Linked DNA regions of Homo sapiens: all the other regions are linked to region 1. Evidence: promoter capture Hi-C in 16 types of primary human blood cells and fetal thymus (Javierre and others, 2016). All regions are on one chromosome and are shown on one strand. Each heading gives the region's core, a stretch centred on a gene start or on the middle of the fragment in contact. The rest is flanking DNA. Distances are from core to core; before and after follow the strand shown. Region 1 holds the start of NRP1 (neuropilin 1). Region 2 overlaps PARD3 (par-3 family cell polarity regulator). Region 3 overlaps PARD3 (par-3 family cell polarity regulator). Region 4 overlaps PARD3 (par-3 family cell polarity regulator). Region 5 overlaps PARD3 (par-3 family cell polarity regulator). Region 6 overlaps PARD3 (par-3 family cell polarity regulator). Region 7 overlaps PARD3 (par-3 family cell polarity regulator).

What was found. The method cuts DNA at HindIII sites, captures the fragments that hold promoters and counts their contacts. A CHiCAGO score of 5 or more calls a contact.
Region 2: a contact is called between a fragment that was not itself captured here and the fragment with the promoter of NRP1 in region 1, in 6 of 17 cell types (naive CD8 T cells, megakaryocytes, fetal thymus and 3 more). The highest score is 8.3, in naive CD8 T cells.
Region 3: a fragment that was not itself captured here is called in contact with the fragment with the promoter of NRP1 in region 1 in 2 of 17 cell types (megakaryocytes and endothelial precursors); the score reaches 5.4 in megakaryocytes.
Region 4: a fragment that was not itself captured here is called in contact with the fragment with the promoter of NRP1 in region 1 in 2 of 17 cell types (erythroblasts and megakaryocytes); the score reaches 6.3 in erythroblasts.
Region 5: a contact is called between a fragment that was not itself captured here and the fragment with the promoter of NRP1 in region 1, in 1 of 17 cell types (M0 macrophages). The highest score is 5.1, in M0 macrophages.
Region 6: a fragment that was not itself captured here is called in contact with the fragment with the promoter of NRP1 in region 1 in 2 of 17 cell types (erythroblasts and fetal thymus); the score reaches 8.1 in erythroblasts.
Region 7: a contact is called between a fragment that was not itself captured here and the fragment with the promoter of NRP1 in region 1, in 5 of 17 cell types (monocytes, megakaryocytes, erythroblasts and 2 more). The highest score is 7.7, in monocytes.

The regions. Positions count from the first base shown.
Region 1 is chr10:33,333,057-33,337,077 of GRCh38, reverse strand. It overlaps NRP1 (neuropilin 1), which reads left to right and starts at 2,411. Exons shown (of 17, transcript NM_003873.7): 1 at 2,411-2,768. The coding sequence starts at 2,696. The HindIII fragment of the contact is 8,759 bases long and covers 1-4,021 here.
Region 2 is chr10:34,615,909-34,620,161 of GRCh38, reverse strand. The region is part of intron 2 of PARD3 (par-3 family cell polarity regulator); the gene reads left to right. Among named protein-coding and RNA genes, the nearest start is that of PARD3, 200 kb to the left of the region's middle. The HindIII fragment of the contact is 4,281 bases long and covers 262-4,253 here.
Region 3 is chr10:34,523,344-34,527,186 of GRCh38, reverse strand. The region is part of intron 2 of PARD3 (par-3 family cell polarity regulator); the gene reads left to right. Among named protein-coding and RNA genes, the nearest start is that of PARD3, 290 kb to the left of the region's middle. RefSeq lists an enhancer at 432-1,187. The HindIII fragment of the contact is 719 bases long and covers 2,208-2,926 here.
Region 4 is chr10:34,564,755-34,568,605 of GRCh38, reverse strand. All of the region lies in intron 2 of PARD3 (par-3 family cell polarity regulator), which reads left to right. Among named protein-coding and RNA genes, the nearest start is that of PARD3, 250 kb to the left of the region's middle. The HindIII fragment of the contact is 1,478 bases long and covers 804-2,281 here.
Region 5 is chr10:34,432,066-34,435,943 of GRCh38, reverse strand. The region is part of intron 5 of PARD3 (par-3 family cell polarity regulator); the gene reads left to right. Among named protein-coding and RNA genes, the nearest start is that of PARD3, 380 kb to the left of the region's middle. The HindIII fragment of the contact is 1,458 bases long and covers 1,523-2,980 here.
Region 6 is chr10:34,592,563-34,596,339 of GRCh38, reverse strand. The region is part of intron 2 of PARD3 (par-3 family cell polarity regulator); the gene reads left to right. Among named protein-coding and RNA genes, the nearest start is that of PARD3, 220 kb to the left of the region's middle. The HindIII fragment of the contact is 1,204 bases long and covers 664-1,867 here.
Region 7 is chr10:34,655,656-34,659,400 of GRCh38, reverse strand. The region is part of intron 2 of PARD3 (par-3 family cell polarity regulator); the gene reads left to right. Among named protein-coding and RNA genes, the nearest start is that of PARD3, 160 kb to the left of the region's middle. The HindIII fragment of the contact is 1,831 bases long and covers 936-2,766 here.

The DNA of each region.
Region 1 (4,021 bases), core at 1,162-3,661:
TCAAGTCTCCCTCGTGTGCCCCCTCGCTCACCCCGCCGAGGCTCAGAGCTATCCAAACGGGCGCTCCGGAGCGAGCGCGGAGGTCGGGTCCCCCCAGGACGCAGGCGGGCCTCCGAGACTCCAGGCCGCCCCGGCCGCCGCTCCCTCCCGGTTCCCCTTCCCTGTCAACCTGCCAGGTCCTGAGAGGCGCCTCTCCCTCCGAGCCTGGACCGAGGTCGCTCCGGGTCACCCTAAATCTGATGATGCCGCTCGCCCGGCGCAGCCGGGGGCTGGGACTGGCGGGGCTGCACCTGGGGAGGCGGCGACCGCGCGCGGGTAGTAGCCGAGAGCCCAGGCTGCCTCTGCGGCGCTCACTCCCCCGGGGTCTGCGCTGGGCGCGGTCGGCGCCCCCGCCTCGCCTCCCGCCTGCCCGCCTGCCCGGGCGCAGGGCTGCCCATGGCTTCGACAGTGCTCCTTCCGCTCAACTTAGGCATTTAACTCCCAGCCCTTCGGTGCCCACTTCCCACCCCGCGCCTCCCAGGGGTCCGACAGCTGAGAAGAAGGAGGAAACTGGCAGAGGAAAGAGGCGCTCGGGGGGGCCGAGTTTCCAACTTGGCGACTGGGAATCCCGAGGCGCGTGGGGAGGAGAAGACAGGCTTGACCCGGGGCAAGAGAGTGGCGAGTGCGGGCTCCGTGGGTGCACCTCCCACTGGCCCGGGAACGGCCTGCACCCCGAGGGGCGCACGTCACTGCTCCCAGCCCGAGTCGCGAGCGCGCAGTCCTGGCCTGGGGCCCGCGCGCCTTGGGCTTTCTCCCTGCCCGCCCCTTTTTCTTCCGCCAAAACCTTTGACCAGAGTCTCCTTGCCAGCATTCCTACCTCCCTTTGGCCAGCTATTTGTGCCAGGTAGGAATCAGGCTGTACTTTGGCTGTGTGTGTAGACGCCAATCCCCAGGAGGCGTGTGACCTTTTCACCTTACCCACAAACTCCCTGGGAGGTGCCCCGTGGGCACTGACCCTTCTCCGGGGCCTGATCGGTGACCGCAACCTGTTTCTTCCCAGAAATGTCCTTGCTTTTCGCATCTACAAACGCTTCCTGCAGCACTTCTCGGAAAACCCTCGGGGACGGGCCTGGGGGGCATCCAGCGGGCTGGGGGCACGAGCCGCTGTGGGAAGTGGGGGTGGCAGGAGCTCCAGGGCCGGCGTGCACGTTGTCTGTGGCCGGGAGCGGACACTGAGAGGGCGCAGCGAAGAGCACCCCTCCCCCGCCACTCTTTCCCTCCCTCGGGATGCACAGAGAAACGGGGGCCGCCCGACCCCTGATTTCCACACCCCTCCCTAGCACCTGGGCTCCCAGACAAGGTTGGGCGGGGTCGGGCGGCGATTGCCCCCCTGCTTGGAAGGCGCAGCACCTCCCACCCTCCGGTGTTCCCTCTGCCCCAGAGGAACGGGCACCAAATCTCGGGAAACAATGAAGCCTCCGCGGCGCGCAGAGGGCACCCAGCCGCGCGCCCTGATGCGGGCCAGGGAGGCCGCGTGGGGCTGCAGCCCGGCCTCGCCCGCCCAGGCGGTCTGTCTTCGCTTCACACCACAGCGACACTGCTGCCCCTCGCCCGGCTTCGCGGTGCGGCTCCCACTCCAGCCCGGCTTTCCCCTCCTCGCCCTCCAGCTCTGGGCAGGGGCGTCCAGGGGTGCCCCGCTGCTCCCCGCCACAGGTCTCAGGATGGCGCGATGAGGAGTGGCAGGGGGTGACCCTGCGTTCCTCGCCGCCGAGGGCGCGGGCCCCGGGATTTGAAGTTGCGAGAAGCAGCCGCCACCTCCCGGGCGCTCCGCACTGCGCGGCGGCGGGATCTGCGCCTGCAGGAGCTGCCCAGCTCTCCCTCTAGGGGTGCAGAGCGAGCACGCGAGGTGGGCTGGCCAGACCCTGCGGCTGGCACTGACCTCCGCGCCCCTTCCTCCGACGCCCGCACCCACGCGACCGGGGCGCAGACTCCCAGCGCCTTCCTTCCCGCGGAGATCCCTGCAGGGTCTCTGGGAAAGACAGACAGACGGACGGGGAGAGCACTCGGAGGGAAAGTTGTTCCTCCCAGTCTCCTGTCAGGCAATTACAGGCGAGCCCAAGCGGGGAGAGGGGCGGGAGGAAGCGAGGGAAGGGCTCCGGAGTGGGGGGAGGCCGCAGGAGGGGAGGCGGGGGTGCAGTTGGTGAAACTCCTCTGTCTCCCGCTCATCTTTTCATTGCTCGTTCCCCTCCTTCCCGCAGACACCCGGACCTCCCCTGGGCGCCAGCTCCGCGGCTCCAACGGGTCCAGAAACAAGCCGGATTTTTTTTTTTTCTTCCTGGAAATTGGCTTTGGTGTGTGTTGCCCTACCTCCCTCCTCCCCCTCCCACCCACAGCCCCCCCCCGGCCTTTTTTTTTTTTTTTTTTTTTTTTGAGACATGGCCCGGGCAGTGGCTCCTGGAAGAGGAACAAGTGTGGGAAAAGGGAGAGGAAGCCGGAGCTAAATGACAGGATGCAGGCGACTTGAGACACAAAAAGAGAAGCGTTCCTCTCGGATCCAGGCATTGCCTCGCTGCTTTCTTTTCTCCAAGACGGGCTGAGGATTGTACAGCTCTAGGCGGAGTTGGGGCTCTTCGGATCGCTTAGATTCTCCTCTTTGCTGCATTTCCCCCCACGTCCTCGTTCTCCCGCGTCTGCCTGCGGACCCGGAGAAGGGAGAATGGAGAGGGGGCTGCCGCTCCTCTGCGCCGTGCTCGCCCTCGTCCTCGCCCCGGCCGGCGCTTTTCGCAACGGTAAGTGACAGGCAGAGGCGCGGGTGACAGCGGCGCCCCGGCTCCCAGCTGCCCGCCCCGGACCGGGGCTCAGGCGGGGCTTCCCGGGATCAGCCGGGAACAACCGACTCCCGGGCGAAGGAAACTTTTATCTGGGAGGAGAGAAGAAGAAATGAGATCAGGCGGTTTAGAGCAGGAGGATTTCAGGTCTTTGGGCTCCCTCCTGACGTTGATCCTTGGGCTGTGGGGCTTTTCCTTACCTCTGTTACAAGACAGAGCTGTCTACCTTCCCAGATCAGCATGCCAATTATCTTAATAATGTTTCCTCCCAAAGGCAATTAGAAGAGACTCCCTTTCAAAAATCTGATGGCTGTTGAAAGTTAATGAACACTTTACCAGGAGATCTTACTTCCTGGTTCCTTTGCTGCTCCCCTAAGCCGTTTCCTCTGGTGGGTGACGGCCAGAGATATCGGTTTGTGGGTTGATGAAACTCCCTCCCCCGCCTTTGTACACCTTCCGTAATCTGTCTGGAGTATGACTGAAAGTTACATAGTATCAATACAGGAATCTGACATATACAGTGTAAGGCACCAGGATATCTGAAAATCCCTAAGCTAGTTGCAGCTTCCACTTAGCTTTTAAAATCACTCACTGTTAAGTAAATGAAAAACTATACTGGGGTCTAAACAGTACCATGTAACCTAAATAATGTGTTTTAAAATGGGATCTGGTTGTAGGCATGTTTGACTTCACACTGTAAAGTAAGTGCAGGCAAGGGTATGCAATTATCTTTACAGTAAGTCGTCAGCAATTGTTATTAACTAATGATCAAATATTTACTTTTGTCTGGCTTAGATTTCAATCACAGTAATTAGAAGAAAAGAACATCCACTACTTACTGTGGTATATTGTTTTAATAAGAGACCGCAAGTGGAGGGCCTCATACCAACAGGAATTTAAATCACATCTTTATGATGGAAGTTAATCTCTCTAATATGCTTTTTCAAGGTTTTGTGATTTTAGCAATGGATTTCCCTCAGCAGCTACCAAGCAGTATTTTAAGAGATGCTTAAAGCAAAACACATGCAAAAAAAAAAATTATGAACATGGAATTCAGCTTATTAATGAGCCCAAGTTGATGGCATTTTTCTATAATCTGGCAGGAAAGCAAGACACAAAAAATTATGAATGTAGAATTCAATTTATTAATGAACCTGAGCTGGTAGCATCTTTCTATACTCTGGCAGGGAATGAAATAGCATTCTCGTCCAACT
Region 2 (4,253 bases), core at 1,153-3,652, 1.3 Mb before region 1:
GGTGAGATTATACCACATGCCAGTGGTTGATGATCTGGGCATATATGGCATGGGTGATTATTTGAACAATATCTATATTTTATGCTTATTTTTAACTCCATGAGAGTGGGGTCTCTGAGGAGGAGGTGGTGGTGGTGTGTGTGTTCTTTATATCCCAGGTGCCTGGCCTCAAGGTATTTGTTGAGTGAATGCATGAAGGGATGAACCTTCATAAGGGTTCATTCTGCTATTATATTATGCAGAAACAGAGAGAGGTAAGCTTATTTTATACAATATCAGGGAGAAGGCTGGAGAGCCAGTGTCAGGAACAGTTTCCTGAAGTCAGAGCTCTCAAACATTGAGGTTGGCTGCCTGTGGAGGAAGGGAGTTCAGGTAAAGGGTGAGCAGTAGAAATATTGTAGAGGACATTCAAAGATTTTTAACTGGTAGTTAAACCAGATGATCCTAAAATGCTATTTATATTCTGAGACTCCATTAAATATTTGAGCACCTACTGTTTCCATAACAATGTGAGCATCACAGCAGACAGATTCAGCAGTGTGAGAAACGAGATGACTACCCATGCTGGAGTATTCCAATCTCATGGTGGTGGTGGTAAAATAAAAATTAAAAAAGAAAAAAGTTGGCAAATAACATTATAATTCTATACAATAAAATGCAGGATATTTAAGCTATTTATTCATTCAATAAATATTTGAATGCCAATAAACTTCATAAGTGTCAGCATCACCATTGTAGTTGAAGAGAGAACAACACAATTTTTTAGGAGAAGGTGGAGTTGAGCTACACCGTAAAGACTTTATGGGACTGTGGGCCGGGCATGATGGCTCACATCTGTAATCCCAGCACTTTGGGAGGCTGAGGCGGACAGATCACTTGAGGTCAGCAGTTCGAGACCAGCCTGGCCAACACGTGAAACCCCGTCTCTACCAAAAATACAAAATTTAGCCAGGCGTGGTGGTGCATGCCTGTAATTTCAGCTACTTGGGAAGGTGAGGCACAAGAATTGCTTGAACCCAGGAGGTGGAAGTTGCAGTGAGCCAAGATCATGCCACTGTACTCCAGCCTGGGTGACAGACTGAGACTCTGTCTCAAAAAAAAAAAGAAAAAAAAAAAAGGCTTTATGGGACTATATTGGTGAACTCTAGAGCATCCAGTGAGGGGCTGTGGGATGAGTGAAAGCTAATTTCTAAGAATCACGAGGTGTGCTCTGAGGACAAAGAGGAAACCTTAGGGAAGTGGCACCAAGTGAAACCAGAAAGGAGACTGGGATCATATTGTGGTTGACCTTAAATATTACCTTAGTGTTGAGGAGTCACCTGTGTAACTGAGGAGAGAGGAGGAGGTGTGCATGACTCCAGCAGGTTGGAAAAAGCCAGTGCCTCTGCCAGACAGGAATGTGGAACGGGTGGAAAGTGGTGTGATCTTAGATGTGTAGAGTGTGATATTTTGGAAATCCTATTGGAAACAGTCAGTCAGGAAGGATGTCCTAGCTAAGAAGACATTTGAAGTTTTGAAAGTGGCTCATCTATTTCCTGATTGATACATACCATTAGTTCAGTTTGGGTCTATTATTTTTTGGGTCCAGTTTTTTTTTTAAAATGAATTGATAGGCATGTTTACCAGAGTGCTATTACTTTGTTTTTGGAGATGTCACTTTCTCATTTTTACCTGAATTGTGACTTACTTTGCCACTGTTGTGGAAGCGTTCTTACATTCTGACTTCACAGTACAAGATGTCACTTGATGTCACCAAGAGTTAAGAAAAGCTATTTTAAGTATGCTGGAAAAGGAATCTATTTCAGTGTTTGCGGGAGTCACTATTTTGAAGCAAACTAAGAATTTCTAAGGAGCTTGGAGACTTGCACATCTTCTGATATTGGGAGGTCTTAGGTTAAAAGACTTTTTTATTTGGATTCATTAATTGAGTGTAGGTCATTGTTAATGGAAAATCGTTGAACACTTAATAAATACAGCTATGTTTAAAGTTCTTAAAAATTTAAATACAGATTAGGAAGCCCAAATTTCAGAGGAACTGGTAGAGGATTTGTGCTTTGTTTTTAATGTTTTAAACAGCCCTGTGGTTATAGTTTAGAAAGGTCATAGTTTTGACGGTCCTCTATTAAAAGAAAGTGATTTTTCCATCAGAATACAGTTGAGTGCCACAGTGTATAGAGAAGCCATAGCTAATACTTTAAAATGTTTTACTTTTAAAATTTCAAAACAAACTGTAGGTTTTAAAAGTTTTCTCTCTCACAGTTTTAACCCAATCTGAGAAATAAAAAAGTAAAAAAAAATAAATGTATAATTTTGATCTCTCTAGGCTGAGCCCCTAGAGTGTAGCCCTTTATTCCTTGAAGGAGGCATCCCTTTAGTGAGTTTAAATTTATGAAGCCAGTCCCATGAAGGCTGCCTACTCATGTCTCCCTTGCCTTCAGTCTGTGTGTGCTTTGCTTTTAATTTGAGAAATAATCACTTGGTTGTGGTCTTGTGGACCAAATACTGTGTTATCTATAGACAAATTGAAATGTACTTTAAACATTATTTTATTATTTTTGACAAAAATTATACATATTTATGGCATACGGTGTGATATTTAAGTGATGTGTAATGGTCAAATTAGGGTAAGTAGTATATCAGTCACTTCAAACATTTTTCATTTCTTTGTATTGGGAACATTAAAAATTTTCTCTTCCAGCCATTTGAAAATACACAATACATTAGTATTTGTTTTCACCCTACAGGGCCTTAGACCACTAGAACTTAATTCTTCCTATCTAGCTGTAATTTTGTGTCTGTTAACCAATCTCTTCCTACCTTCCCCTTCCCAGTCTCTGGTAAGCACTGGCTTACTCTCTACTTCTATGAGATCAACTTTTTATTTTTATTTATTTATTTATTTTTTGAGACAGAGTCTTGCTCTGTCGCCCAGGCTGGAGTGTAATGGTGCGTGATCTCGGCTCACTGCAGCCTCCACCTCCCGTGTTCAAGTGATTCTCCTCCCTCAGCCTCCTGAGTAGCTGGGATTACAGGTGTCTGCCACCATGCCTGGCTAATTTTTTTGTATTTTTAGTAAAGATGGGGTTCACCTTGTTGGCCAGGCTGGTTTTGAACTCCTGACCTCAAGAGATCCCCGCCTTGGCCTCCTAAAGTGCTACGATTACATGTGTGAGCCACCGCCCCCGGCCAAGATCAACTTTTTAATTTAGTTATTTTTTTTTTTTTTTTTTTGAGACAGGTGCTCTGTTGCCCAAGCTGGAGTGCAGTGGTGTGATCTTGGTTCATTGCAGCCTCCACCTCCCATGCTCATATGTTTCTTCCACCTCAGTGTCCTGAGTAGCTGAGACCATAGACCCATGCCACCATACCTGGCTTTTGTTTTTTTGGTAGAGATGGTTCTCCCTGTGTTGCCCAGGTTGGTCCCAAACTCCTGGGCTGAAGCAGTCCTCCTTCCTTGGTCTCCCAAAAAGTGCTGGGATTACAGGCATGAGCCACCACAGCCAGCCAGATCAACTTTTTTAGCTTCCATGTACAAGTGAGAACATGCTGTATTTATCTTTCTGTACCTAACTTATTTCACTTCACATAACGTCCTCCAGGGTCATTCATGTTGCCTGAATAGTATTCAATTGTGTGTATAGACCACGTTTTCTTTACCTGTTCATCAGTTGCTGGACACTTAGATTGATTCCAATATTTTGTCTATTGTGAATAAGGCCGCAGTGAACATGGGAACGCAGATATTTCGTTGATGTGCTGATTTCTTTTCCATTGGGTGTATATGCAGCAGTGGGGTTGCTGGATGTATGATTGTTCTGCTTTTTTTAATTTTTTTTTAATTTTTTTTGAGAGAGTCTCACCCTGTCACCCAGGCTGGAGTGCAGTAGCACGATCTTAGCTCACTGCAAAGTCCACCTCCTGGGTTCAAACAATTCTTGTGCCTCAGCCTCCCAAGTAGCTGGGAGTACAGGTATGTGCTACCATACCTGGCTAATTTTTGTATTTTTAGTAGAGACAGGTTTACCATGTTGGCCAGGCTGGTCTCGAACTCCTGGCCTCAGGTGATCCACCCGCCTCTGCCTCCTAAAGTGCTAGAATTACAGGCTTTTTATTTTTTGAAGAAACTTCATTCTGTTTTCTATAATTGCTGTACTAATTTGCATTCCCACCAGGGGTGCACAAGAAGAGTTCTCCTTTCTCCACATCCTCACCAGCATCTGTTATTTTTTGTCTTTTTGGTAACAGCTATTCTA
Region 3 (3,843 bases), core at 1,318-3,817, 1.2 Mb before region 1:
AGTTTTCCATGACTTTGTGCAAATTGCTTAACTGCTTCCCAGTTCTGATTGATTGGCCAAAGCCACAGCCAAGTTTTCTTTTCTAGTGCTTCTCATTTTAAATATAATTTGCAAAATTTAGGACTAAGGAAGTGATCCTTCAAGTTTCTATTTTAGAATGAAAAGTTTTCCACTACTGATTGCCAAAAAATAAAGTATAGAGTTTACCAGATGGCAAGACATTTTAGTGATGAGTCATTTTTTACAAGTTCAACAATGGAATGAGTGATGCGTTAAGGAAGCCCAACGAGGGAATGTCTCGGTTCTGTGAGATGGTATTACTTGATGGTAGAGACGGAATTACCCTTGTTTCTGACGACACTGGATATGAACTGTAGCAGGGAGCTCAACGGTACAAGTTGGTAGGAGGAGGCAGTTGTAGCTTAAGTGGGACTCCTACTTTCCCTGCATCTAAACATTCGTAACTTGCTGGTGGCACAGCAGGAGGAGGGTTTGAGGGTGGTGTGTGGGTATGGAGACAAGGGCTCCCCACCCGTGGAACCAAGCCCTGGTTTACTATATCCAGCTAGCTGAAGAGGTAAAAAGACTAGAAAGAAAGGGCCTTCCTAACTAAAGATCTCAGCTCTGAAAGACTAGAAAGGAAGGGCCTTCCCACTAAGGATCTCAGCTCTGTTTTTGTGGACTCACCAGTGGATGCAGACATTCAGAGGAGCAGGAGAGCAGGGCATGCTCCTGCCTGGTCGTGACTGTCCTGCTATGTTTCTGGGTTGTGCATTCACATTGGCAGCTTTTCATGCCCTGGGACTATTACAGCGTAGGGACTGGGGGAGATTTCAGGATGTGACTTATGCCTGGGAGTGAAGGGAGTGGTGTTTAGTGGAGATTAGGAAGAAGATGGAAAGTATTTCACCCCCAGTTGCTTGCTCACTAACGTTTAACATTGTGATTGGTGCTGTGGGTTTTGGTGGTGGTTGTCTTTTAATTACAGTTTAGAGAGGCTGTGTGTGTGTCTGTGTATGAGAGAAAGAGAGATTTTGGTTTATCTCGTTAAGACCTATCTATTTCCTACATGGTGTTGGATTTTTTTTTTTTTTTTTTTTTTTTTTGATACGGAGTCTCTCTCTGCCACCAGGCTGAAGTGCAGTGGTGCGATCTTGGCTCACCGCAACCTCCATCTCCCACGTTCAAGCGATTCCCCTTGCCTCAGCCTCCCGAGTAGCTGAGACTGCAGGTGTGTGCCACCACGCCCAGCTAATTTTTGTATTTTTAGTAGAGACGAGGTTTCACCATGTTGGCCAGGATGGTCTCCATCTCTTGACCTCATGATCTACCTACCTCTACCTCCCAAAGTGCTGGAATTACAGGCATGACCCACCATGCCTGGTGGACTTTTGATTAATAAAAATATTTTGGCCGGGCACAGAGGCTCACGCCTCTTAGAAAAAAAAAATCTTTTTTTTTTCTTTTAAGCAAAATCCCTACTGCAGACTGTGTTGTTAATTTAAAGAGTTACTATTGAGGGATTCTCTTATTTATCATTTGTTAATGCAGGCATTTCTGGATACACGTAAACATATGAATTGTCAAGCTAAATTGTTCACAGATTAGAACACTATGCTGTTGACCCCTGTTTCCACGTTACTCCCTCTTAGATATGTTGGAAGGTTGGCAGAGTGGCAAGGCTGGAACATATACCCATAGGTGAGGTACTGCTCTAATATCACAAACCATGGGGCTAGAGCCTGAGACGGGTTTGAGGTCAAGTTTCCTGGTACTGTGTACGAGAAAGTCTATCCACACTTTGCCATTCTTGGCTTAGCCAGTAGGAACATTCGCTAGTCTTTAATGTGCTCATGGTATTTTAGTGTTCTTTTCTAAGTTTTAGGTCTTTTTTATCAGACAGTATATACCCTTCTTAATATGCTGATGAAGCGTGGAATTAATCTCACATGCATAACATTTAAAGTTTTCCAGTGGCAAGCTTAAGATTCTTGTTCTGTAGCGAGTTTTTATTGGTATAGTTTGTATTACTATGATTACAAAACATCATTGGTTCAAATATATCCTTTTGCTTACTCGTCCAGTTAAACACTAGCTCTATTTAAATGAGTTTTTAATGAACCATGCTAGCAAGTAAGGCTCAGAGAATGATTAAGGATTTAGTATTGTCTCTGTGTCATTAAAGTAAATTCAGTCATCAGAAAGCTTACAAATTGATTTTTAGTTCCCTTTTTGTTGTGTCTACGTAATAATTAGTTACTACATCATCGCATTTGCTTCTGAGATTATTCATCTTGCCCATTTGCCAGTCTTACCATGTTCTCTTTGAGGGAACACTGCATGTGTTCATGATAAAATCACAACTCGTGCCACTTCCTCCAGTTTGGAGTCAACCTATCTGTATGTGATTAGCCCATTTCTGAATTATTTTGTTCTGTCTTACTGTGCTATCCTACTTTTTATTAATACTTAAGCAGTAGTGTTATGTAGTTGTAACCTCATGGGTGGATACCAGTGTAACAGTGGCACTCATGATAGAGAGTAGAGCAAGAGGGGTTTATATTATATTTGGCAGGTGGGTCAGTTAGCTGATGGCTATACGAATTTGCATATTTTCATTGTGGTTTGTGGTTGACATACTCAAGGCTATTAGTTGAACATAAGTCTTAAACTGGGAATCTAATTAGTCTGAAGGCTCAGTGGGTGATAGACTATGTCACCCTGAGGGACAACAGAATTAAATTTCAGCTCTGAAATGTAAGCATCAGGGCTAGGGAGTATCATAGGTGAATATCTTTCACTGTGGTTTCCAGATGCAGTGGAATATCTCTATTAGGCATGAGTGTTCAAGAAATACTTTCTTCTTAAAGGATGGCATTAGCTCTTGTCGGACAGGTCTCCCTTTGGCAATTGACAGATAGAAGCTTATGATGATGGTGGTCTCCTGTGTTGTTCAGGAAGCAGCGGGAATGTTCTGCCCTCTCCTGCATGATATTTTGCTGGAAATGGCTTTATTAAAGATTGATCTCATTTAGCTCCCTTTCTTATGTTGGATAATACACTGTGATAATCTACAAAAGCATGTTAGTGTTTGGTTAGTTTTTCTTTTATGTAAGTGCCACAGGTTATCACGTGTGCTTTATGGGAGACAAGTGTAAATGAAATCTTAAAAAAAAATAAGAGATAGAAAAAGGGGAATTCAGAAACTCAAATACTTGATCTAATTTATAATTTTTTTGGACATCCTTGAGTGAAAGGGCAGAAGAATTTAAATGTATTGGTAGGTATGATCCTAATTATAGAAATCTATAATTTATAAACTATGGAGACGAAAAGTGATTTTTGAATTAGTGATAGTTTAGAATTATACATCATGGAACAGCCTGACTTCAAACTTAAAAAATGCATGTATCTCCAACTCCTTTAGTTTTATTGTTAAGTTTTTGAAATTTATTTCATTATGCTCTAGTTCTCCCATATCTGTTGAATTTTCTTTCTATTCTCTTCTGTTACATTCTTCTTTATAGGCACATCTGCCCATGACATCTCCCTGTCATCTCTCAAACACGCACTTTCTGTGTTGTGCTTCTTGTTGACTAAGCCGCTGGATCTGGCTTGACTCATGGAGGCTGCTCATGTTTCTTAGATGAAGAGAGGGTCATGGAGGCATCTTCAAGTTTATTCTTGTTTCTAGTATTCTCCAACATGTTTTGTACTTTATCCAGGGCCAAAATATGATGCCTTTTTAAAAGAATTATAAGTCTTTATTTCATAGGAAAACAATTGCATATATTGACATTGAGTGTCCAATGACACCCATCATAATTGACTTTCCCTGGATAT
Region 4 (3,851 bases), core at 293-2,792, 1.2 Mb before region 1:
ATTATTCTTAAGACTCAGAATTTTGTTTCTTATGAAAATGAATATAATCTCTGTAGTCTTTGTAAAAATTAAACCCCTATGATTTTTATATCTTATTTCTATAAATTCCATGAAATAAAATTTGTAGCGGTTTTTTGGTAAAATTGTCAAAGAGACCAGTTTTCTTTCTTGTTGTCTAGAAACTTTCAAAACGAGCAAGATTTTGATTCAAAACAGAAGTATTTAAAATCCTAATGAATTAAGTCCTCTTAAAGGATATCTCATTTGCCAATAATGGAAACATCACCGTATGACTTGTTGAATATAAACCTGTGATCATTATGGTGGCAAACTTCAACCACACTTGTAGTACTAACTTTAGCAGGGTAAATTTCGATTTACCTTTATGGTCAGTGATATTCCAGCAGCATAAAATGCAATTTTTGGAAGGCTGTTCCTAAAACTCATTCCCTTTTCACTAAGAACTGTGGATAACAGACTCAAATGTGGTTCAGGGTGGTTGCAGATGGACACTGGGAGGCAGAGGTGAGAGAGCAGAATATTCGATTACCCCACAGGAAGAAAGCTGCCTAGTGAATGGAAGACAGTTGGTTTTGTTCCTTAACCTGCCCATGAGCAGTCATTATCCCATTGACAAAACTAGATTCTCTTTTGTTGGATATAGGATACAAGGACACGTTCCTCGTAGTGAACTAATCATGCTTGCTAGCTAGAGCCTACAACAATTACATCTCACGATTCTGAGGACAGATGGCTGGAGGATAATTTTGAAATTGTTCATGTCACATCTATTGTGCAAAGCTTCTTGGTACAATATTGATAGCTTCACGTCCAGCTGTAGCTGCTGGTTTCAGATCTTCCTATTTTTATCTTATTGTTTAAATGAATAATGTCATTACTACTTTAAAAGCCACTGAAAAATTTAAATTAGATTAAATTGTCAAAGTGCATAACTGATGTTTGTATCTCTCTGTCCTTGTGTTAATTAAGGATTTGTAGGAAGTGCTGTGGATGAATTTAACCCGTGAGTGGTTGTAAATCTGACTAGACTACTTGTTTGATGCTAAGTCAAACCTGTGTAAAAAGAAAATGCCGCCAAAGGACTCAACTTTTCTTAAGGTTTAAAACTATTTCAGAAATGACTTGGCGGTTTAAATGTTTATAATATTGGTAATCACAGTATGTTAAGCACACATGCATATGTATATATTTTAATATTTTAATGTAAAATAGTCTCGTTAGTCTCCATTCTTTACCATTATTTTTGAAGTGAACATTTATTTTGACATTGTTTTTAAAAAATTGTATAGTGGATTAGCATTTATTTTTAGAACACATGCAGAATCAGTCCATCGCATAATACAAATATAAATGTTGATATCAGTACTTTGTTCAGTATCATTTTCTCTATTGCACATCACCTAGCAATCCTCCTTTTAGGAATGGTTGGCTCAACAAGATCTCATTAACCTTGTGTTTTCTTTGAGTGGTGCACTATACTAACAGCTATAAAGTGCATTTCCTGTTATTTGTTTCCTATGTGGCAGTCTTTCTTAACTTGTCAATACTTTATTTCCAAGTCTTTATAGAGGAAGTGACTATAGTCAAAGAAGTTAAATGTTATCTTAAAATACACTTAAAAAAATCCTGGAAGTACCTGAACCATTTTAGAAATATTCTTGTCATTTTTACTCTTTAAAATAGTACATTCAAAAAAAGAGTGTTAATAATAACACTTAAAGATATATTCTTATCTTTAAGCAATATTGGCTTCAACAGCAGTCACATCAGTGTCTTGTGCTTTATTTGGCCTGATGTGGGAATGGATGGTGCCAATTGTAAAAAAAACTTTGGTTAATTTATTTAGTCAGTATCTAGATAGAACTCTATAAGACTATGATGGGGCTTTTGTGTAATATTTTCTATTGTAAAAGCAAAAGAACACATTTCTTGTGCATTTAGGTAAGAGAAAAAACTCACATATTTAAAACCTGCTTTTTTGCGGGAGGGTGGAGATAATACACAGGTAAATTTTTATTTTGGTTTGTTTTGCACCACCTTCTTTCCATTTTTGGTCAGCTGTTCAGGCTGCATTTCCGGGATAATGTATTTACCATGCATTTTAGTCATTGTACCTCTCAGCCTCCAGCTGGCCTTCCCCCAGGGTATCTTTGCACTTGCAGGTCAGAAAAGACCAAGTTATGAATGTGATCTCATTTTCAAGGGTTTTAATCTGTTTTTGGAATTAGTCAAAATCTGTGTTTTGCTGTAAGATTAAGCTTGTGAAAGGCTGCAAGGCTTTCCTCTTTGCAGATGCTTTGAATGACTTGTATAGAAATGTCCCACAGAGGTGCTTCCTGTTGTTTTCACATCCCTTTCAGGAATACACAAGCCCCCCTGTTTGTCCATCTCTGAGAAAGACAAAATAGCTCAATACTTCTTGCAAAATAGAAAATGTCATTTGTTGGTTGTGGTGGTAACAGGGCCGGACATTATTCCTCATTCCCATCCCAAAACATTGTTGACTCAGCTCCAGACCTCATGTAGTAAGAACAGCCGTCCTCCTGTGTTATCACTGGGGTGGCTCCAGGATCGATGGAATGTATTGAGTTGGATCATCAGTGCCAGTTCACTGGACTGTATTTAATCATTGAAAAATGAAGATGTGTATTTTCCTTTTGACACAATGGAAAATCAGTTGAATCACGACTTTTTGTTCCTTGAATTTGAAAAATGGAACAAATTATGAAAAGCCAATTATCACCATCATTTGAATTCCACATTTTTTGAAGCTTTCCTCCCCTCAAAAATAACCTGGTGATCTGATTAGTGTTGTCAATTTCCACAGGATCTTAAGGGAAGGGGCCACTGTCTTTCCACATCTGAAAAGTGAATGCCATAAAGATAAAACAGCTTATCAAGCCATGGTGTGAGGCACACTGTGCATCAAAATCACTTCTTAAAAACGAGGATTTTAAGAACCAGGAACACAAAGTTGTTAAAGAGCAAGTTATTTACAGAGTTAAGATAAAAGTGTCCCGGCTGGGTACGGTGGCTCACATCTCTAATCCCAGCACTTGGGAGGCCGAGGCGGGCGGATCACTTGAGGTCAGGAGTTCGAGACCAGTATGGCCAACATGGTGAAACCCTGTCTCTACTAAAAATACAAAGGTAGCTGGTTGTGGTATCTCACGCCTGTAATCCCAGCTACTCGAGAGGCCAAGGCAAGAGAATCGCTTGAACCCAGGAGGCAGAGGCTGCAGTGAGCTGAGATTGCGCCACCGCACTCCAGCCTGGGTGACAGAGCGAGACTGTCTCAAAAAAAAAAAAAAAAAAAAAAAAAAAGCCTTGCTCCTTTGTCTTTTATCTGACCATCTGGTCTTCTGTAGTGACCAGACGAAGAACTGTCTTAATATAATTAAACTAGCTTTCATGATGAAGTATACTTGGCTACTAGATGATCTTAGATTTCTGGCCAGCAATTAATATCACTGATGGTCTAAAGTTATTTTAATGTTATTCATTTTATAGACAGTATTGCTCAGCATAGTGAGTATGGGCTTGAGAGCCAATCTGCCTGATCTTGGCTCCAGAAGTTAATTAGTTCTGTGCACTTGGGCAAGTTTCTTGGCTTTTCTGGGCCTCAGTTTACCCATCTCTAAAATGAAGATAAGAGATGTACCTACATTGTAAAGTTGTTATAAGAATTAAATGAGTTGCATGAACATTGGAGATGTGTTGATTATTGTATTTCATACATACATTAAAATTATATTAATGGCTTGCAATTGTAGACAGATCATCAAATGTGGTTACTATTTTCACAAAACAAGAACATCCTAAGTGTCTAC
Region 5 (3,878 bases), core at 1,002-3,501, 1.1 Mb before region 1:
GACAGAAAAAGGACAAGATTTTCTTTTTTTAAGATGGGTAGTTCACTAAGTGCTTCTTGAAAAGTAAGAGTTTTATGCTGTGTTCTCAACAGTAACTTTTGCCCATAAATTCTGTCTGAACAGAATCAATAGTGTTTTCTTCCCTTAGTATATCCCAAAGCGGGGTGCTTTGTAATTTACTTCTGTGTTAACTTTTTTCCTGTTATGTCTTAGACTGTATGTTATATGATAGTATAGAAGCCACCTATGTGAAATATTTAAACTTTTGTGAATGAATGTGGTCTTCTTGCCAAACGTAAACATACTATGTTTTTCTCGATTGCTCGGGTTCACTGAAGAAAGCACACCTTCTTAAGATACAAGATTTCTGTTGATGGGATTGGTCTATTTGGGGGCTTAGTCAACAGATATTAGTGTCTCATTTGTAACCTTTCTCATACCATGAAAGGTTGTTGGCAATTTGTATTCTCATTATCTTACTACCTATTTGGATCTGGCAGTCTTTCTCTTTCTTTCATTGTTCCATCATTTATTGGCTTAAATGAGTATTTGGAAGTCCTGGCTGGTAAGAATTCTGTGTCTTTGGATATATTGATTCGTTGACTCTAGGAAGCAACTGATTTTAGATTGTTCTTGATGTTTCCAAACTTTTCCCTTTCTGATGTTTAAGAAGTTGAGATGATGAAGTGTTGCCATCTGCAATTACAACAAAAGTACCAGAGATAGCCACAGTGACTTCCTTTTTTTTTCCTGTTATTTGTAATATCAAAATGTAAACCAGAAACAGCTATGCACACATATACACAGGATAAATAAGTATTAAATTAATATTAGATATCAAATGTGGAATTTCTGAAATTGCATGTAAGTGTTTAGAATGACAGAATGTTTAAATGTCTTTTACCGTTCCCTGATACCTTTATTTATTTTGGTTTTCTATCTCTTATATGTCAACTTGTCCTAATTAATTAAATTAATTTTATGCTTGATCAAAATAAATACAGAATTTGTGCAGCTCATAGCAAAGCCTCGTGTGAATGTGAATATGTGCTGGTGTGTGAATGTGATAGTTATGATGTTATTTTGAGGCTATTTTCACTAAGGAAAAGACAGTCCAGGATCCTGATATTGCACCTTTTATCAGCCATTGATATTTAGAGTGTTCTTTACTTTTTCCTCCTCTTTTCTGTATGCCTCTAATCTTGGCAATTGTATTTTTAAATTCATTCATCCCTCTGCATCTTCATTACTACTTCCAAAGTCCAAGCTGTCAACAGCTCTCACCTGGGTCACTACACAACACTGCAGCCCTCCTCCCTGTTTACATCTCTTTGTCCACTGTGGCTAGACTGATGTGTGGTCAGGAGCACTGCTTGACACACTCTGGGGCTCTGACCATACCCAGGAACACCGTGGGTGAAGTGGTTAACAGCTGCTTGAAGTTGCAGCAACCTGGATTGGAATTGCACAGCATGTCTTATGCTGACCAAGCTGCTGAACTTTCTAAGTGTCAGAGCAAGCTTCATAATCTATTGTGATATATTTCAGAGGATTGTGAGGATGAGATAAGATGAGTCATGGAAAGCTCTTAAGACAGTAGCTAAAACACATGAAATACTCTAAGTGTGAGGGCTGATATTGGTGTTTTTGTCCTTTTTGAGTCTTCCTGATGTTCCTTCACCATGTGGATCGCAGCTGCTTCCAGGGTGCATTCCCAGGTTAGGCAGCCCTGCTGAACTCACTCTAGTCTCCAGATCTACCCTGTTCTTGCATCTCTGGGTCTTTGAACATGCTGGCCAACTCTTCCCTTTTTCCTGCCTAGGATCTGCTGTTCTGATCTCCTGCCACCTGCCTCCTTCAGCTCATTATTCTTAGCCATACCCGATCCCTGCCAAAACCAATGTGAGGCACACATAATAGTGTCTTATTCTTTCCCATCCTTGCACTTTCCAAATTTCATTTTAATTATGTCTTTCTTTTTAAAGAGGGCAGGACCCATATCTGTTCCTCTGAGTTTTTAATTTGCTTTGTTTTCGAGGGAGGCATGACTCAATGTGTGGAGGCATTGGGTCTCTGTCACATACGTTTGCAGCCTAGCGTAACCATGCTTTTATTGAATACATTTGTTATTATAAAGGGCTTTCTGCTTGTAATTTGTATATCTGGAAATGTTCTTCTCTTAAAACATTTTTACAGCAACCATTTTGATAAAAAAATCTTATTCCATAGATAGTATATATTTTCTTACATTGAATGATTAACTTTTCAAGAATCTCCTCTAGATTAAATTGGAGAAAGTTTGAGGGGAGGGCAAGGAATGTTAGTTTGATTATATCAGCAGAAATCTGGGCTTTTTGAATTACTCATATTTTAAGTCCCTTGGGGGACTAATTTTCCTGAGAACTTTGTATTATAATCATAAACAGATCCAGTTCAGTAATACTTTCATAAACTTCTGGCTGAGACTTTGGTATTAATGTCCTGAACTCTTAGAAAGAGAAACATATTTTTGTAGGTTGGCCAAGAAAAATAGGTCTTGATTCAAATAAAATAATGTATTTGTTATTTTTAAAAGGTTTTTCCATTGAGCAATCTGTGAAACTTTTTGGTAATTTAGTTGTCTAATATTGGACATGACTTAGGCAGTGACTTGGTGTATTTTCTGTGGCTCAATATAATGACTATTTGAATTTTTAAGTTTTTGCTTTTGACTTGGGAGTAAGTTATGTTAGATTACACATTATTACAGAACAGTTAACTGTTACTCCTTTGGTTGTAGATTTTAATAAAAGGTAGAATCCTGTGTCTTAGTTCCTTAAATATATTTGAAATGGTAAAATATGCAGAGAAATTTTTTATTGAAAGTAAACATTTTATTTAAGGTACTTTAAATGTACTTTAAGGTACATGTGCAGTTTTCCCCCTGCTGTTAGTAAATGGCTGAAATAGCACTTTGGATCTGTGGCACCCTGGAGAAGCTTTCCTCTTCACTCCTCTGACATTCTGTTTCTAAGCTCATTCATATTATTTATAGAAATTTCTTCTTTTTGCTCTACCTCCCTGAGTGCTGGTCATTTCTCTGGATGGGTTTTTACATGCTCTTCCTTGGTGAACTTTTATGTTACTTTAGTTCCTCTTCCTGTTCCTTCAGACTTGTGCTTACCTGCAAGGATGGGCTGGTCACTACTGTCTAGATATCTTTTTGATCACTCAGATTCAACATGGGTGAAGGTAAACCATCTTTATGTTTTCCCTGAGATGGGAAGTGGTCCCTAATAAAAAGGGCAATGTGACTTGAAACTGCCAGTTCTGAACCTCATTGTCCATGGATCTGGGCCATATATAGCAACCTATGTGTTCAGAATTACCTTACCCCTGTGAAATCATGAGTAGTTAATTTCTGGTGTTTCCTACGCCCAGAAAATTCTATGATTGGCCATTCTTTTCTTGTTTCTTTTAATTTTGCTCTGTGTCTCCCAGGCTTCAAACTTACTCTCTTATTATCTTCTCTCTAATTTTTTATGTCTTACCTAGTGCCAGGTACTATATATTATACCTTTACTCCTCTGTGTGTGTGTGTGTGTGTGTGTGTGTGTGTGTGTGTGTATGTGCACGTGTATATCTTTCTATTTTCACAGCACCTGTTCTCATTTCAGCCATATTCCTTTTGACTAGACCTATGTAATATTTGTCTCCCTCTCCATCTGTTTGTTTTTAAAATCAATTCTGCGTTTTCCTATTTGCTTAGTCTTCCAAATTGCCACTTGGATTTCCTCACCTGCAAGTTTAAAAGCATGCAAAACACTCCCTACTGTATTTTGATTTAAGTTAAATCAAATTTATTATCTTGATATTCTGGGTTCTCTGCATTCTTTTTT
Region 6 (3,777 bases), core at 16-2,515, 1.3 Mb before region 1:
AGACTAATACAAGGGCTTTAAACATTTGTGTGTTTGTGATAGAAGGAAATTCCATATGCAGGTATGGTCAACTAAGTGAGTACATTTCCTTAAAAAAAAAAAAGTAAAAATTTGGATTTGATGGATATTGCTTACAAACTTGAGTGCTCCCAAAGTTATTTCCACAGGCATGCTGAATCTCATCTGATCTGTAGTGACTCTCACATTTAACTTGAATTAGAGCTTGGGCACAAAAGCAATAATTTGAACAAAGTTTGATTCTTAAAGAGTAATATGGTATCCACTTCCCCACTTCCATTGTTTTTCAAGAAAAAGTTGGTATGCAATACAAGGGTAATATTAAGCTTTTATCTTCATCATTTATTTATTTATTTTTATAAAGACAGGGTCTCACAATGTTGGGGAGGCTGGTCTCGAACTCCTAGGCTTAAGCAATCCTCCCACGTTGGCCTCCCAAAGTGCTGGGATTACAGGTGTGAGTCACTGCACCTGGCTTCATTTATTCAGTATTTGAGGCAGAATAGGAAAAAAGAAAACCAAGGAAATTCTAATGTATAAACTGTGACAGAGTGTTTTTTTTTAACCTAAATAATGAATTCCTTATATTTGAAATAACTAAGTGAAAATAAAATTTTATTTTGTGTCTGTTTCAATGTAAAAGCTTATTTCATTCCACTACAGCATACAGAAACTTTATTCTTTTTCCTAGAAGGTTATAGTACCAGACACCCTTCTTCCTTGAAATAGTTTAGATGGGACTGACTGAAAAGAATCACTGTAATTGGCATGTAGAGTGTCACTGGGTACTCGTTAGGATAAGAAAATGTAGTGAAATCAACTTGAAATTTAACCAAATTGATGGCATTGTGCCTTGTAAGGTGCTTTATGGAATGTAGTCACATTTTATAGTAGACTTAAGTTCTAGTTTTAAGTAAATTTTTTTTATTTTTACATTTTCAAATGACTTTTAACAAATACTCTGAATGAATACTCAGTAAATACTTAGGCCATTAATATTTTGCAATGGAAATTTCTATTGTAGTTTCAGTTCATGAATCTTTGCTCCTTACCCCATCCCACAAGAAAGACTTAAACATTCAATGAGAGGCAAATTTGACTTCTTCAAAGCCGGAATGGAAGAAGGGAGACAGAATGTCACAAACTGTAGTCTGAACTTGACATTGTGATATTCTTAGAGAATGTTTTTACTTTTAAGCCTTAAAAAGTATTCATGTTCTTGAACTGTGGAACTCCAGTCTCAAGTTTGGTTGTTTGGCAAGTAAATTAAGACTAATCATTATAACAGTCCTTTGCTACATGTCTACTGTAGCTGAGCTCTGTCCTGTGTGTTTTAGACATTACCGTATTTAGAAAGAGAATGACTCCAAGGTGCTACATGGAGAAACTAAAGAGAGTCACATGGCCAAGATGTACCACACTGGAGATGCCAAAACTTGGTTAAAAGCCCTCATCTGACTGACTTTATTTATTTTTATTTTATTTTATTTTTTTGAGACAGGGTCTCACACTTTTGCCCAGCCTGGAGTGCAGTGGTATGATGTTTGCTATAGCCTTGAGCTCTCTGGGCACAAGTGATCCTCTCACCTCACCCTCTCAAGTAGCTGAGACTACGGGCATGAGCCATCATACCTGGCTAATTTTTGTATATTTTGTAGAGTTGAGGTCTCACCATGTTGCACAGGCTGGTTGACTTATTTTGAAGCCGATTTTCTTTTTGTCGTCCTCCTCTACCTTCAGGACTTTTCAGGTAGTATAATCCTGTCGTCGTAATTCCTGGCATCACTTACTCCATTCTTGAGGTTTTCTGGTCTCTTGCATAGCCAGGTGAGAGCTGAGTTGAAAAGCTTTTTATACAGGCTTCATGGATATGTATACTGGTATAAGTGCATCACACAGTTAATAAAAATATTGGAGAAGACCATTTAGTTCACTTCTTTATAACAGCAGTGCCTGTACACACTTTCCTCAAGACTTTCTGGTAGTTGGAAATATGAGTTTAAAAGTAATAGTCATTAAATTAAGTGGAAACTGTGGGTCATTTCAAAGACATTGTTTTTACAAATTGATTATACACATACTAGGTCCTTCCAAGAGCATGCTTAGGTTGAACAGAAAGTCTTACTAACAAAACACGTGCCCTGTGCTCTGTATTGTCCTCAGGGCATATGATTGACTATTACAGTAATAAACCCTTGCTTTCTCTGAGGTGCAAAAAGAAGCTATAGTCTGAGTGCTTGGGAGAGGCATAAGTCATAATTGTAGGCTGTAATAAATGCAAATCTATGAAAAATGGGTTAGCTTCAAACAGCTGAGTCGCAGAGTCTTGCAAAACCATGCCCCATTATTCCTCTCTGGAGCCCAGATCATAGAAGAATTATCCATCTTTTTTAACAGTGGGATTTCTAAGGCTTCTCAGAAATCTCCGGTCTCTTGGTTTCCAGCAAGAGAACAATATCGAGTCTTAAATGACAGAAATGAATTCCTAAATAAGTTGAACTTTTTCAAGTTTTTACCAAATTTAAATAATAATGCTCATATGAATGGTAGCTCATGTCTTCCCTGTGCAGGTGGTACTGAACTAACATTCTAAATTTGAAATGGCAGGCTCTCTGTTCCCCTGTCTGGGTAATCTCTGATAAAACATTAATCATCTCAAGGTTCTATTCAAGTCCATTGATGGAAATTGTGAAATGTAATTTAGCTTGAGGAATTGAATTAATGTTTTCTAATAGCCCTGAGATATTCACTGATTTATAGGTTTGAATGCTGGGAGGTGCATTTGTGTTTCTCTGTGTGTGCGTGAGCTCATCCTAGTTAATCTAAATAGGTGTTTAGAAATGATGCACATTCTATATCATAAAAATATGTATTATCTCTGTGACTGGTGAATATTGGTATGGTTTATTTGTGTCTGTCATGGAACTTATACATTGCTTTATACACCTGGTATAAATTCGTGCTCAACTGAGAAATATTTGTTGAATTTTAAAAATCCTTTAAATGTATATGCATATATATGTAGACATGGAATCACAGATGTATATATTTAGTTCTAATGTTTTATTTTCAAGCAGGTGCAGAATTTATCTGATTTGATTACTTACACTATGTGCCTCTGTTGTGCAAATACTAGTTTTCTCATCCTTTGTTTTTCTCCTTACAGCTCCTTTATCACTTTGCAATATCTAGCTCTGCTCTGTAACATTTCTGCCTCAAACCCACATTGATGGCGTACTTGTGTCTTTCTCACTACCCTCTTCCTTTACAATGTTACAGCTTAACAATGGGTGCAGCATCCATTTGTCTTTCATTTCATTCCCTTCTGCATGTGTAGCGTCTGAGAAGTTTCTGGCCCAGGTAGGCATGCAGTAATGTATTGAATGAATATGGTAAGGGAAGAAGGAAAAAACATGGTTCCAAGATCCTGGGGAGGTCTAGTTGAATGGACTGTGCCTTTTTTGTGTCACCTTGGAGCAGTCATTTCATCTCTTGAGGCTTGGTTTCTTCTCTGTGAAATATGCATGATTATTATTATATAGTTTTTGAGACAGAGTATTGCTCTGTTGCCCAGGCTGGAATGCAGTGGTGTGATCTCCACTCACTGCAACCTCCAACTCCGGGTTCAAGCAATTCTCCTGCCTTAGCCTCTGGAGTAGCTGGGACTACAGGTGTGTGCCACCACGCTCGGCTAATTTTTGTATTTTTAGTAGAGACAGGGTTTCACCATGTTGGCCAGGCTGATCTCAAACTCCTGAC
Region 7 (3,745 bases), core at 602-3,101, 1.3 Mb before region 1:
CAGCTGAGTGAGTGATACATAGGAGTTCAATAAATTATCCTCTCTACTTTTTTGCAAGTGTGGCAAATTAGATCATTAAAAAAACTAAAAAGTTTTTGTAATTAACATTTTTAAATGTTGGGAACAAAACCCTTAGAAATAATTTTATTCTTGCTCTGTTATTTAGTGGAGGAAACTCAGGGCAGATGACATGTGTTGGTTTGTCCTGTGTGTCAAGGCTCCTTGGAGGCAGAGCCTCTTGGGAGGTGCAGGTTTCCTGGTTCCTCACTTTGTGCTGGGTGTGCCTTTCAGGATCTGATTCCTGAGGGTGTGTACCAAGCCAGTACTGTGTGTGCGCTTGCATTGCCTTACTCTTCACTAAGAACATGGAATTTGTAGGTAAATTCTAAGCAGTGAAATTGTAGAAACTAAAACACTTTGAAAATAATATATATAAATTTAGCATGTCTTCTGTGACATGCACAATTATAAATGCTGTACTTATTTTAACACACGTGGTGAACTCTGTGAATGGGCTCTGGTGTTTTGTCCATTTTATAGGTGAGGAAATTGAGGCTCAGAATGCACCAGGATTAAGTTGTTATTTCTCAGCTGCAGTTCAGCCATTTGTGCTCTGCTTTTCGAGGAGACGTCTCCTTTGCTAGCTGCTCCCTGGAGCTTTAGAGGGAGCTGGAGCCTGGCAGGCAGGAGGGGGGACATGGCCCTTGTTTGCTTCCTGTTCCTGTCTGCATTGCCCAGCAATAGTCATTAATTGGCAGTTCCTTCTCGTTTTTAGATTTTTTCCCCCTGTCCACATCTTTAGGCCCCCTTAACAGAATCAGCACCGAGGTCCTTCTGCTAAGCTCCTCATGCCTCAGCCTCAGCCTCAGCCCCAGCCCCCAGCATCTTCTCCTCGGAGGGTGGGTACCGTCTGCCCCTGGTGCCGCCTTCAAGCTTCAGGTTCTCATAACCGAATTTCCTCAGTTCCGCGGGTGGTAGGTGTGCTGCAGTTACCTGTTTACCCTCTTCCTTATATTAAGGATTTGTTTTGTGATTTGTTTTCCTTACTCGATCCTGACCTTATTTTTGGCATTTATTAAATGATATTCAGAATTCAGCAAATTGAATTTATTCTAAGGAATATTGTAATTTAAAATAGTATCTAGTTATTAGTACTAGTACTTATTTTTACATCTTTACCAAAAGGTATAAAACACATTTTTAAAAAAACATTTGAATAAATCCACTTATGTTGTGGATTCTTTTTTTTTTTTTTGAGACGGAGTCTTGATCTGTCGCCCAGGCTGGAGTGCAGTGGCGCAATCTCGGCTCACTGGAAGCTCCGCCTCCCAGGTTCAGGCCATTCTCCTGCCTCAGCCTCCCAAGTAGCTGGGACTACAGGTGCCTGCAACCACGCCCGGCTAATTTTTTGTATTTTCAGTAGAGACAGGGTTTCACTGTGTTAGCTAGGACAGTCTCGATCTCCTGACCTCGTGATCCGCCCACCTCGGCCTCCCAAAGTGCTGGGATTATAGGCGTGAGCCACCGCGCCTGGCTGTTGATCTCTTAAAAAGCTGAGAAGTGGCTAGGTGTGGTGGCTCGTGCCTGTAATCCCAGCACTTTGGGAGGCCCAGGCAGGCGGATCACCTGAGGTCAGGAATTTGAGACCAGCTTGGCCAACATGGCGAAACCACGTCTCTACTAAAAATACAAAAATTAGCCAGGCGTGGTGGCGTGTGCCTGTAATCCCAGCTACTCGGGAGGCTGAGACAGGAGAATCACTTGAACCCAGGAGGCGGAGGTTGCAGTGAGCCAAGATCGTGCCACTGTACTCCAGTCTGGGCAACAGAACAAGACTCCGTCTCAAAACAAACAAACAAACAAACAAACAAAACAAAACTGAGAAGCAGAAAGGTGACAGTGATGTGTTAATTACTAAAATCATGTGGCTTTGGGGAAGGACACAGATCCAATGAGAATAAATGGTTATCAGGTGATTGTCAAATAGATCGAAGTAGACTTTTTTTTTGGACAATAATTATTTCATCACCAGATGAATTTCAGGCCAATACAAACATCATTGTCTCAGTTCCTACCTTTCTCTCCCATTTCACCCTGAAATTTAAGGAACTATGAAATGTTTGAAAGTGTGCATGTTCTCGATCTGGCTTTTCTGACTTTTTTTTTTTTGGTAGAGGTGGGATCTCCTCTGTTGCCCAGGCTGATCTCAAACTTATGGCCTCAATCAGCCCTCCCAGAGGTGCTGGAATTACGGACATGAGCCATCGTGCCCAGCTGTGATCTGGCTTTTCTTATTTATGCAATTGCCAAGGCTAGAACAGACCTGGGCCTTATTTGATAAGTTTAGGGTCAAAGTTTGCATCAGATCGTAATTCTACACAGAGTAAAAAGTAGAAAATGTGACAGCTTGTCTCTTCTCTCCCTTAGGCACAGTGTTGAATGTTTATTAGAAGGCTGTTTCCTCACAACATGTTTACATCAAGATGCATGCATGCCTTAGCTTGATGCTTTTGCAATTTTTATGTAGCATCTGTTCCCAAATACAAGAGCGCTAACAAGGCCTTAATACAGATAGCAGTGAGGACAGCAGGGAGTTGCCCCTGTCGGTTTCTGACTTCTCCTGCGGCCCTGAGTTATTATTCATAATGTAAATTCTCTCTCAGTTCCCAGCATGTACATAATTAATGGAAAAGACTATCCAAGGAAGTTCAGCAGCCACAAGTAGGTCACCATTACCAGATGTTTAATTATTGTCATTAGGAAGCTTTTGGAAATACCTGATGAGCTTTCTAAAAGCATAACAATAAGCAAATCCTTTTGGATTTTGATGGATTGGTTCTTTTGTATTGAATGATGATTAAGGTTATTACAGGCACAGCACTCTCGCCTTCTTCCGAACATCTTTATCAAAAGTAATAATTATGCTACCCTCGATATGAAATGCACGTCACTCTCCTTTCATATGTTCTCTGATTTCAACTGTGCCAAGTTTTAATTAATGTACTTCAATAGTACGAAAACTTGAGCATCTATAATTACATCTTTAGTAGCAATATTTAAAACCTTTACTGACAATATATTTATCATAGAACACTTCCTGGAATTAAGGTCAGTTTATGTGGAACTGACATGCATTTCAGATAGGTTTTTTTTTATCTTGAAGGTTAAAAGTAGAATACAATATAGGAGAAGCTAAGAGAAGCCCATTAACATTACAATTTTTGTGGTTTATGGGGGGCAGTGGTGTTAAGTAAGTTTAACAAAGGCAGGGAATTTTAAAAATTACTCTTTACTTTTTTCTTCAACATCAAATTTGTATACCATAAAAAATTTTGACATTTTGCTAGTATGTGAGTGAGCCATTCCCAAGTCATCCTTTTCAAATGTTGTTTGTTTTTGAGTTCACGTTGAAGAACACGATTAAAAAAATTCTTTTGGTTTTTTAATTCAGTTCAGAACTGAATTTAAAAATCAGAAATCTCAGTGTCTCCTGCTCTTTGCTGCTTTCCTTCATGGCATCTGTTGTTACTCTTAGACTTCATTCATTCCCATTTTGTGGCTTGTTTGTGGAATTTAAAGTTCTTAAAAGCCCAATTTCCTGGTCTCCAGTTACTTTTAAGATGGACCCATTGGCTCCCCCTTGTGTCTACTCTTTGTATTGTCATCCTCCAGGCTCTTGGTTAAACAGCTTGTAAGGTAACTTTATTACTGCTCTTGAGGAAGGGACAATGGCTATATTCGTCAG